Regions from separate parts of the Homo sapiens genome. Here all the other regions are linked to region 1. The links are contacts of gene promoters, found by promoter capture Hi-C in human tissues and cell types (Jung and others, 2019). All regions are on one chromosome and are shown on one strand. Each heading gives the region's core, a stretch centred on a gene start or on the middle of the fragment in contact. The rest is flanking DNA. Distances are from core to core; before and after follow the strand shown. Region 1 holds the start of GPR146 (G protein-coupled receptor 146). Region 2 holds the start of MICALL2 (MICAL like 2). Region 3 has its middle 35 kb from the start of MICALL2.

Region 1 (3,332 bases), core at 608-3,107:
GGAATGGCTGGGAAACACTGTTGACAGAAAACAGCACCGTGGGATCGTCGTGTGCATGACACGGTCGGCCGGGTTCTCTGGGTGATAATTTCCTTCTGCAAAGGCAAGACCTCGCTGTGGTTGGGTCATTAAAGGCCAGGCGGCAGTTATTTTTTCAGGATTCCAGGTGACATCCTAGGGGCTGTGAGAGCTGCAGCTCCCTGAGGAGCCCCTTCTTCTCCCTGCCCCAGTGAGCAGCATGTCCCTCTTCCGACTGTAAATTACACGAGCATATTTCCCCATGCAGCGATCTGTGCAGTATGCCATTGATTCATTGTATGATAGACATAATCAGCCTTTACATCCTAACCTAAGACCCACATGAGGTGCGCGCCCTTTGCCCTTCTCTCTTCATCAGCCTACTGGGGCTTATGAGTTGCAGGGACTCCAAGTCAACTTTCACATTTACATTCTGCCCTAAATCTGTGTTCCTCTGTCCTCCATCCTCAGGATATGTCCATGCTGGCTAGAGAGGCAGGATGACACGTGGACGCCAGCACGGATGTGTGTGGCGTCGGGCAGTGAGCTGCTCTGGCCCCGACCTCTTCTCTGTGAAAAGGCACAACAGTATTCAATACATATAAACTATGTTCTTAAGTCACTTGTCTTCAGAGGCCTTCTTCATTGAGGAAGACAACAGGGGTTCTGGTTGGGGAGCCAGGCCTTACAGTAGTTCTTGAAGGAGCTGCACAGCAGGTCATGGGTACTGTGAGTGTGCACTTCGTCTAATTATTAACAGTGCCTCCGTTCACTCTCAACGGTGCCCCAGTTAGGACGGTAGACTATCTCATCACCACTATGCGTGAGGAGCCTGGGAACATGGTCAGAACCATTTTACTCATACAAGTTTGCAGAGGCCTTTAAAGCAAGCCTCTTGGCCCTCTGTTATTGAATGCTGGCCTCTGCTAGGTGCTGCAGGTAGCAAAAGATAAAAGATGTCGTGCTGTTCCGTGTGGACAGGAGCTGGCTATTTAAAGTGGAATGGAGGACTCAAGTACATCTTCATGGGCAGGGAAGAGATCAAAGGCTGTGGACGACGAATACAGAATTATCCTCTGGTCCACCACGTAGCATGCATGCAGAGATAAGCCACTGTGACCAGTCACATCAAGATTCATAGACTTATGCCTAATTTAGAGAACTGACTTGCCAGGTTTGTAATACTAACTTAATAGTGGGTTTTCTGCTGCTGGTAGTGGTGGTTTGGCGGCTGGAGAGCACTGCCTTCCAGTGAAGCTTTGAAAGAGCCGTCCCATGCCCTGCCAACTGTCCAAGACAACTGACAGCAGATCCGACACCTCCATGTAGACACAGATCCAAAACTCACTTTAAAATACTAATCACAGAAGGGGCCGAAAGCAGTCACCATAGTGGCCCAGGAGAGCAGGATCAGTGGTGCCCTGTCGGACATGGGAGAGCCGGTGGCGGCGCTGTGCCGCCTACGCCAGCAGCAGATTCAGCTGCCATCACCAGGTTAATGACCGAAAGCCCGCCCCCGGGGCTCAGCTCGGAGCGCGGCCGGAGGACAGCGGTCCCCTCCTGGCAAGGGCACGGAGCCCCGCAGTGGGCAGCGGCCAGAGGACCCGGGTCCCAGTAAGCGCAGCGCCCGCCGTGGGAGCCACAGCAGCTTGGGGCTGGCTCCCTCCCCAGGCGGAGACTGGGGTGTGCCCCACCGACCCGACCCAGGCTCCCGGGCCCCACTCACCGGCTTGCTGGGCGGCGGCCGGCGCAGTCGCCGCCGGGCGGGCAGCTCGGGCTGGCGGAGGCGGCGGGGCTCACGGCGCGCACGCCGCCCGGGCCCTGTGTACACACGTGACCGTCGGCCCCGCCCCCGGCCGGCGAGCGGCAGCCATGCCTGGCCCCGCCCCCAGCCTTGGTCCCGCCCTGGCCTCCGCCCCCCGGCCCCGCCCTCGCGGCTAGACCGCGGGGAACCGCTCGGACCAGTGAGGTTGGGGGGCGGTGGCGGTGGAGGCAGTGCTGGTTGTGTAACCTGAGACCAGCCATTTGACGAACTCGTGCGAGATTCCCTGTGGGAGGACACACACCCAGGGCTCTGGGAGTTTTTGAGAATTCTCTTAGTGCCCAGCGCGGTTTCTTTTTACAGGCGCTGGTGCCTATTTTGCTGAGTCAGAATATACCCTAATCTGCAGGGTGCAGGCCCCACCGCCCTCCAAAGGAAATGAGTGGCTGCAAGTTAGTCCTTCCAGGTACACCTGCCCCTCTTTCTTCACCGAAGTTTGCTTGCTGTTTCCAAAGTCACCAATTACTTCCTGGTTTTAGGATTTTCTTTGTAAACGGAACACTCACAGGAAAGCCGTTTAAAGAAACACATTGCTGCCTGATTACTTTTGTAGCTATTGTTACAAGTTAAACATTGGAAAAGTTGAAACAAGGACATTTACTTTGCTGTAATTTTTGAGGTGAAACAGTCCCCCCTGCAGCACATTCTGGTTCAGGATCTAAGAACATTTCTGAAAATCAAAGCATGTGGGTTGCACAGTTCCGCATAGACTTGCTGTGAGCTGCGGGCCGAGTGGAACACCAGCAGGAAGAATAGCGGCCACTGGCCCTCCGCTGCATGATGCTGTGGCCTACTGTGTTCAGGGATGTACCTCAGCCACCTTCCTGGACAGGACGGCTTCCTGACCGTGGGTCGGAGTGGGACGTCGGGATCAGCTTTCTATTCCAGCGGGAGGGCAGGGAGAGGCTCACCACGGCCCACGCCTGCTGATGTGATACTGACTTGCTGCCCAGCCCGGCACCAGGTCCCTGGCACAGTGGATGCAGCCCGGGCCCTGTGTGCCCAGAGGTGCCGGGTACTGATCTTACTTGCCAAAGTCAGTCACAAGCAGCCAACACCGATACCTGAGGGCGTATTCTGTGTCAGGTTCTGTTCTGAGCCTCAACCATTGTTTTGAGGTAGATACGTCCGTATTTCATCAAACCTAAGACACGATTGATTAGTGTTAGCTATGCCATTACTTTATGGATTACTAAAAAGAAGGCCCTCTGCCCACTGCATTCCGACATACTGCTGATTTTAAGGCGCAGCCTCACATTAGAGATGATAAAGTGAGAGTACGCCTTAGCGTCAATGAGATAGGTCACCATGTGCATTTTAATATTTTTTTTTTTTAAAGACAGAGTTTCTGTCATGTTGCCCAGGCTGGAGTGCAATGACACGATCTTGGCTTACTGCAGCCTCAGCCTCCTGAGTAGCTGGGATTACAGGTGCGTGCCACCATGCCCAGCTAATTTTTTTTTTTTTTTTTGTAGTAGAGATGGGGTTTCAC
Region 2 (3,332 bases), core at 235-2,734, 410 kb before region 1:
GACATCCGCAGGTCAGGGACTGTGGCGGAGCAGCGGTTAGGGCCAGCCACATTCCCAGGCCACAAGGGCTCCCTGCCTAGCAGCTGCTTGCATGCCCCTGGTGACGGGGAGCTCACCACCTACACACAGGCCTCACTGACACTTAGGCAGCTGGCCATGAACACTACGGTGTCTCACCAGGGACCAGCCTCAGAAAAGATCTGGAACAGCACCATTGGCTGGGGTTGGAAGACCTCAGTTTCTCCTCCTCCCAAGGGGCACAGAGAAGCTGCCCTGACTCCCTGCCAGGGGCTACTGCGGGAAAACACCTTCCTTCCTGCAGGCCCTGCCCAGACAAGCCCTGGCCCCACAGCCAGGAGGGTAGGCCCCCCTCACATGGCTGGTGTCAGTGATTCCGCCCTCGTCCAGCCCCCGTGGCCACAGACAAGGTTCCCCAAGGATAACGGGGCCAGGGGCCAGTCTGGGATAATTTAGGGCCCCAGCAGAGGGACTTTCCTTATTTCTTCTGTCACAGCTCAAAGTGGAAAATTGGAACTACCCTGCAAGTCAGCCTGAGGAATCTCCTGCCCCAGGAACAGATCCTGCCCACAGGCCCCCAGAAGAAAAGCACAGGCCAGCTGTGCAACTCCGGCTCCACGGCCCCCTTCCTGGCCTCAGTTTCTCCTCTGGCAATGCCCAGGCCTCACCTCTGCCTTGCCTGGAACCCCCGCTGGCATGTAGCGGCCTGGAAAGAGAAACCAGATGCGGACGTCCTTTGAAACCCTGAAACACAAGGCGCCTCCTGCTCCCCGGGAGGCCGGGCTGCCGAGGGCTGAGGCCCTAGACAGGGCAGGGTGTTCGAGCCTCAGTGTCCCCGTTTGTCAACGGCCTTTCCTGCCTCTTCTCCATGGCGGTGGGGTGAGATGGTGGTGGGAGGTGGGGCGGCGAAAAAGAAAATTCCAGGTCTCCGCAGGGGTCCAGAATGGCAGGACCCCCAAGCAGACCGCGCCCCTTCACCGGTTGGGGGTCTCGGCCCTCAGCGGCGGGGCGGGGCCTGGGGAGGGGCCAGGCGGCGTGGGGCGGGGCCTGTCGGGCGGGACCTGACAGCGTGGGGGCGGGACTTACCAGGAGGCGGGACGTGCCTAGGGCGCGAGCCCGTACTGGGGCCGGGCGGCGTGGGGCGGGGCCTCTCGGGAGGCAAAACCTGGAGGCTGGGGGCGGGGCCTGTCCGGAGTCGGGGCCTGCCTGGAGCGGGAGCCTGTGCCGGGGCCAGGAGGCGTGGGAACGGGGCCTATCAGGAGGCAGGACCCGGCGGCTGGGGGCGGGGCCTGTCGGGAGGTGGGGCCTGCCTGGGCGGGAGCCTATGCCGGGGCTGGGAGGTGTGAGGACGGGGCCTATCCGGAGGCAGGACTTGGCGGCTGGGGGCGGGGCCTACAAGGAGGCGGGGCCGGCGGGGGCGGGGCCGGGCTCGGCTTCTCTTAGGGACCCGGCACTCGTCGCCCTCAGTCCGGCTCAGCTGGGGCTGGGCGCCGTGGGTCTGGCGGTTCCGTAGCGGTCCCAGCGTCTGTCCCGCCGGCCGGGCGGTCGCGGCACAGCCGCGGGAAGGTGTCGGAGGGCGGTTCCGCCGCGCGGCGGGCGCGCCGCCCACATGGCGGCCATCAGGGCGCTGCAACAGTGGTGCCGGCAGCAGTGCGAGGGCTACCGCGACGTGAATATCTGCAACATGACCACGTCGTTCCGCGACGGCCTGGCTTTCTGCGCCATCCTGCACCGCCACCGGCCCGACCTCATGTAAGTCCTGCCTGGCGCCCTTTGATTCTTCTGCTGTTCGGCTGCGCGCTGACACGGGCGGGGAAACTGAGGCCCGGGCGGCTGGGGGATGGGGAGCCGAGGCGTGGGACTGGGCAGGCACAGCCCACCGTGCAGCCCCCCGAGGCTGTCCTCAGTGGCCTCAGTGTGCCCGGACACCGAATGCAGCTGGGCCAGAGCCATGGCATCCCCCGCCCGCCGGCTGAGTCAGACGTGACTCAGGGCGGCTCCTGGGCCCTGGCTTCAGTCCAGTCCCCCTCTGTGTCCCTGGGAAAGGCCAGCAGAGCTGCCTCTTTGGGCCCTCCGAGGCTCTCACTGCCCAGGGGCCTGGCCACCAGATGGGGTCCCTGGATAGCCCTCGTATGGGCACTGACCCTCCCCCAGCCTGTTCAGGCCCCTGGGGGGATGTGGCCAGGGCCACTGTGGGGGAGCGGCCAGTGCAGGGCAGGAAGCCCCCAGACCCCAGGTGCTGCTGCCAGCCGGGCCTCTGAGGCCCCGGGTGATAGGGCCCGAGATGGAGAACAGCCCCCATCTCTGGGAGCAGCAGGAGGTGGCAGGGGTTGAGGACTAGGCTGTCTCTCCCCAGGAGGGTCTTGGCGTGTGTAGCTGGGCAGCTGGCCCTGCCCGTTGCTGAATCTTGGCCCGAGCCTGGACCTGCTCCATTGTTTATTCACTCAGCAAACGCTCTTTGGCTAAATGACTGGGACCAGGCTTGCTGGGACAGAGATCTGTGTGTCGGGGCTGGGGGCCAGACGCTCAGGAAGGGGGGCCCTCAACGGCCACCTGCAGCCCAGGCACCTTCTGGGCAAAGCGTTCTCCTGAGTGTGTTTTTGGTGGGAAGGTCTCGGGGTTGGGAGGAGCCACAGGCAGCACCTGGGGCCTCTGTCAGGCCGCAGCTGTGCAGACCAGAGAACCGAGGCTAAGAGGAGGGGTCCTTGCTCAGGTCACACAGCCCCAGCCCGTTGCGCAGATCCGGGGCTCCTCCCCTGTGCCCCTGGACACTGTCCTGCCAGTCCCACTCTCTGCAGGAAGCTGGGGTCTTGAGCAACAGCCTCGGCCCCTGCTCTGAGGTTGTGACATGCATTCGTGGAGCCACCAGGGGCTTCCATTTGGCGTTTGGGCAGCAGCCGCTCTCCCTCGCCAGGAACGTGCCTCTGTTGCCCTTGCAGGCAGAAGATGCTGGGCACAAGGTGCGTGCTTCCACATGGAAAGCCTGACGCTGAGCTTTGAAGGAGAGGGCCAGGGACCTGGAGACTGGGAGAAGGACCCGGAATGGGGAGGAAGGCAGGCGAGACCCCACCCCCGGGGCTGCAGGGTCCTGGATGAGGCTGGCTGGTGGCTGAGCCCAGGCATCCAAGCTGGGGCCAGCCCGAAAAGCCTCTGGGGTGGGGAGAGGCGTTGCCACCGGCTGCTGGCCACCAGCTTCATGGATCACTGGTGTCGCCGGAGATTTGGGGCCCTCTGGTCCTGGGGAGCTTCTCTGTACTCCCTGCCGGCTCAGACGTGCCTGTGGGCAGTGCCCAGGGTGAGCACAGGTGCATGTG
Region 3 (3,332 bases), core at 304-2,803, 380 kb before region 1:
CTTCGCCTCCCGAGTTCAAGCGATTCTCCTGCCTCAGCCTCCGGAGTAGCTGGGATTACAGGCGTGCACCACCATGCCCAACTAATTTTTGTATTTTTAGTAGAGATGGGGTTTTGCCATGTTGGTCAGGCTGGTCTCGAACTCCTGACCTCAGGTGATCCACTGGCCTCAGCTTCCCTAAGTGCTGGCATTACAGGTGTGAGCCACCACATCCGGACCCTTTGTTCCGTTCTTTTAATTGAGCATCTCCTCCATGCCAGGCCACCCGCTGGTACCACAGCCCCACACCAGCAAGAGACCCACCAGCTCCTGTCCTCGAGGACCTGGTGGAGGCATAAAGAGAATGGCAGTCCTGGGGGCCGGGGCTCTGCAGGGACGTGGGGCCCTGGGGAGGGTGCTGAGGGGAGGGAGAGGCAGCCTGGTGGGAGGGCTGCGGCTGAGCCAGGCAGGGGCCCTGAGGCCAGGGAGAGTTGCAAGTTCTGGCCAGGCATGGACTCCGTCCGAGTGGAAAGGCTGGGAGAGGTCAGAGGGGCAGGATGGTGGGGTGGGGCCCGGAGGGCGTTAGGTGGAGAGACATGGGACCAGGGTGGTCTTCGACGCCAGCTCTGGCTGTGGGTGTGAGGTCCAGGGGGCAGAAACCAAGGACATATAACCCCCTCGCTGACATCCAGGGCCCACCAGGTGTGGCCTGCTCTATCCTCATTGGCCAGAATATAGTCACATGGCCAGGGCAGGCTGCAAGGGATGCTGGGGAATGTAGTTCCCTCTGGGGCTTGCTGTGGCCGCTAAAAGGGGAGGTGGGGAATGGATATTGGGGATGCATGAGTGATGTCTGGCTGCAGTGACAAAGTACCGAAAATGGGGGGCTTCAAGGAACAGTTAGACTTCTAGAGGCCAGAGTCTGAGATCAAGATGTGGGCAGGAGGCCAGGTGCGGAAGCTCATGCCTGCCATTCCAGCACTCTGGGAGGCCAAGGTAGGAGGATCGCTTGAGCCCAGGAGTTTGAGATGAGTCTGGGCAACATAGTGAGACCCCATTTCTACAAAAATTTTTAAAAATTAGGCCAAGTGTGGTGGCTCACGCCTGTAATCTCAGCACTTTGGGAGGCCGAGGCAGGTGGATCACCTGAGGTCGAGAGTTTGCGACCAACATGGAGAAACCCTGTCTCAACTACCAATACAAAAATTAGCGAAGCATGCTGGCACACACCTGTAATCCCAGCTATTTGGAGACCGAGCTGGGAAAATCGCTTGAACCCGGGAGGCGGAAATGGCAGTGAGCCGAGATCAGGCCACTGCACTCCAGCCTGGGTGACAGAACAAGACTCTGTGTCAAAAAAAAAAAAAAATAAAATAAATAAAATAAAATAAAATTAGCCAGGCATGGTGGCATGCACTTGTAGTCTCAGCTACTCAGGAAGCTGAGGGGGGAGGATTGCTAGAGCCTGGGAGTTTGAGGCTGCAGTCAGTCACGATCGTGCCACTGCACTCCAGCCTGGGCGACACAGTGAGACTCCATCTCAAAAAAAAAGAGAGAGGGTTGAGTTTAGGTTGAAGGTAGCCAATCTGAAAGCTCAAGGCAGGAATTAGGGATTTGCTAAGGGAACCCTTCTTTCTGAAGTCAGAATCTACTGATTAAGGGTTCCATGAGGCAGTGCTTTGCTGTGGTGAGAAAGGCAGTTGTTGTGGTCCAAGCTACAGCTGGTACCAGCAGAGGAAAGAAAATCAAGGGTTCAGCAGAAGAAAGTCTTGGGATTCTAAGTCCGCTGGAAACCTCCCATTAAGAACATAGTATGATTATGTGGCAGACACAGCCCCCAACTTTGCTGGATGCCATCTGGTATTTGGGGTGCTGTGGTGGTACACAGGACTCACGGTGCCACAGCAGCCAGTTTGGGACCATGAGGGATGGTAAGGCCGCCAAGCAGAGACGAGCTGGGCAGAAACAGGGAAGGCTGCTGGGTCTTTGCTGACCTCCTGTTGGTGTCACTGAGCCCTGAATTAGCCAGTCTAGAACCTTCTTATGTGTAGATTTCTTGTTGGGAAGGATAATGAATCCAGGGTCGTGTAAGCCTCTTTGACTTGAATTTCCTGAGAGCCAAGTCAACACCCTATTGGTTTCCATTGATGTCACGCCGACGGGATGTCCTTCAATTCCCCACACCGTCTGCGCTGGGGCCTGGGGGTTGTCCAGCCCCGTCCACTCTCTTGAAGTCAGTGGGGATGCTGAGGCCCAGGAAGCAGAGTTGCCATCCCATCCCCGACCAGGGCAGAGCCACTGGGCCAGCCTCCTGCGCCATGGCCCTCCCCAGGCCTGCACTGGGTCTGGGGCCACCTCCCTGTTGTGGGACCTTTGCAAGACCCCGTTTTCCATGGAAGTGAGGACAACAGTGACAATGACACGCCTCCCCAGGCGTAGCCCCTTCTTCTGACCTTGAGTCAACCAGTCCCCAGGAGGGTGGGCGGGATGGGGCTGGGGAAGGTGAGCTTGACAGCTTCTCCACGTGCTGCTCCTGCCGCCTCTTCCCCCTCACTCCCAGCTCAGTCTGTCTCTCCCTCCCTCTCTGTCTCTGTCTCTCCCTCCCTCTGTCTGTCTCCCTCTCTCCCTCCCTCTCTGTCTCTCCCTCCATCTGTCTCCCTCTCTCCCTCCCTCTCTCTGTCTCCCTCTCTCCCTCCCTCTCTGTCTTTCCCTCCCTTTCTGTCTCTGCCTCTGTCTCTGTCTCTCCCTCCCTCTCTGTCTCTGTCTCTCCCTCCCCTTCTGTCTCTGACTCTGTCTCTGTCTCTCCGTCCCTCTCTCTGTCTCTCCCTCTGTGTCTCTGTCTCTGTCTCTCCCTCTCTGTCTCTCTCTCCCTCCATCTCTCCGTCCCTCTGTCGCTCCCTCCCTGTCTCTCCCTCCATCTCTCTGTCTCTGTCTCTCCCTGTCTGTCTCTCCCTCTCCCCCTCTCTCTGTCTCTCTCTCCCTCTCCCTCTCTCCCTCTCTGTCTCTCTCTCCCTCTCTCTCAGTCTGTTTCTCTCTCTCCCCCCTCTCTCTTCCTCTCCCCACTCCCCCTTTTCTCTCCCTCTCTGTTACTCCCACAGTTTCCCTGTCATTCTCTGCAATGTGGGCTCATCCATTCTGCTTCCAGCAGGCTCAGAAAGTTCTGCTTCTTATCTGACCACTGCAGAAGGCTGAGATGCCGCCAGGTGCCACTTCGTGTCTTAGGGTTGGATGCAGGGGCTGGGGGTGCCCCCTTCTCCTTGGCTTAGGCTGACCTGGGTGTGCCTCCGGCCAGAGCTCTCAGCCGGGCTCAGAAGGCCCCAGGGACCGTGGGAAGCTGTCGTTGCTTGGAGCGG

What was found. The method cuts DNA at HindIII sites, captures the fragments that hold promoters and counts their contacts. A contact is called where the count stands out against the background at its distance.
Region 2: the fragment with the promoter of MICALL2 here is called in contact with the fragment with the promoter of GPR146 in region 1 in 2 of the 25 tissues and cell types used here (heart left ventricle and stomach).
Region 3: a fragment that was not itself captured here is called in contact with the fragment with the promoter of GPR146 in region 1 in 2 of the 25 tissues and cell types used here (lymphoblastoid cells and mesenchymal stem cells).

What each region holds. Positions count from the first base shown.
Region 1 is chr7:1,043,071-1,046,402 of GRCh38, reverse strand. It overlaps GPR146 (G protein-coupled receptor 146), which reads right to left and starts at 1,857. Exons shown (of 2, transcript NM_001303473.2): 1 at 1,745-1,857. The region is part of intron 2 of CHLSN (cholesin); the gene reads left to right. RefSeq lists silencers at 1,358-1,407, 1,588-2,077 and an enhancer at 2,183-2,738. The HindIII fragment of the contact is 12,061 bases long and covers 1-3,332 here.
Region 2 is chr7:1,457,622-1,460,953 of GRCh38, reverse strand. MICALL2 (MICAL like 2) reads left to right here and starts at 1,484. Exons shown (of 17, transcript NM_182924.4): 1 at 1,484-1,770. The coding sequence starts at 1,628. It overlaps MICALL2-DT (MICALL2 divergent transcript), which reads right to left and starts at 1,035. Exons shown (of 2, transcript XR_001745046.2): 1 at 687-1,035. RefSeq lists enhancers at 1-21, 1-109, 110-661, 2,085-2,807, 2,808-3,332 and a silencer at 992-1,711. The HindIII fragment of the contact is 47,250 bases long and covers 1-3,332 here.
Region 3 is chr7:1,423,166-1,426,497 of GRCh38, reverse strand. No RefSeq gene overlaps it. Among named protein-coding and RNA genes, the nearest start is that of MICALL2, 35 kb to the left of the region's middle. RefSeq lists a silencer at 3,091-3,332. The HindIII fragment of the contact is 5,123 bases long and covers 1-3,332 here.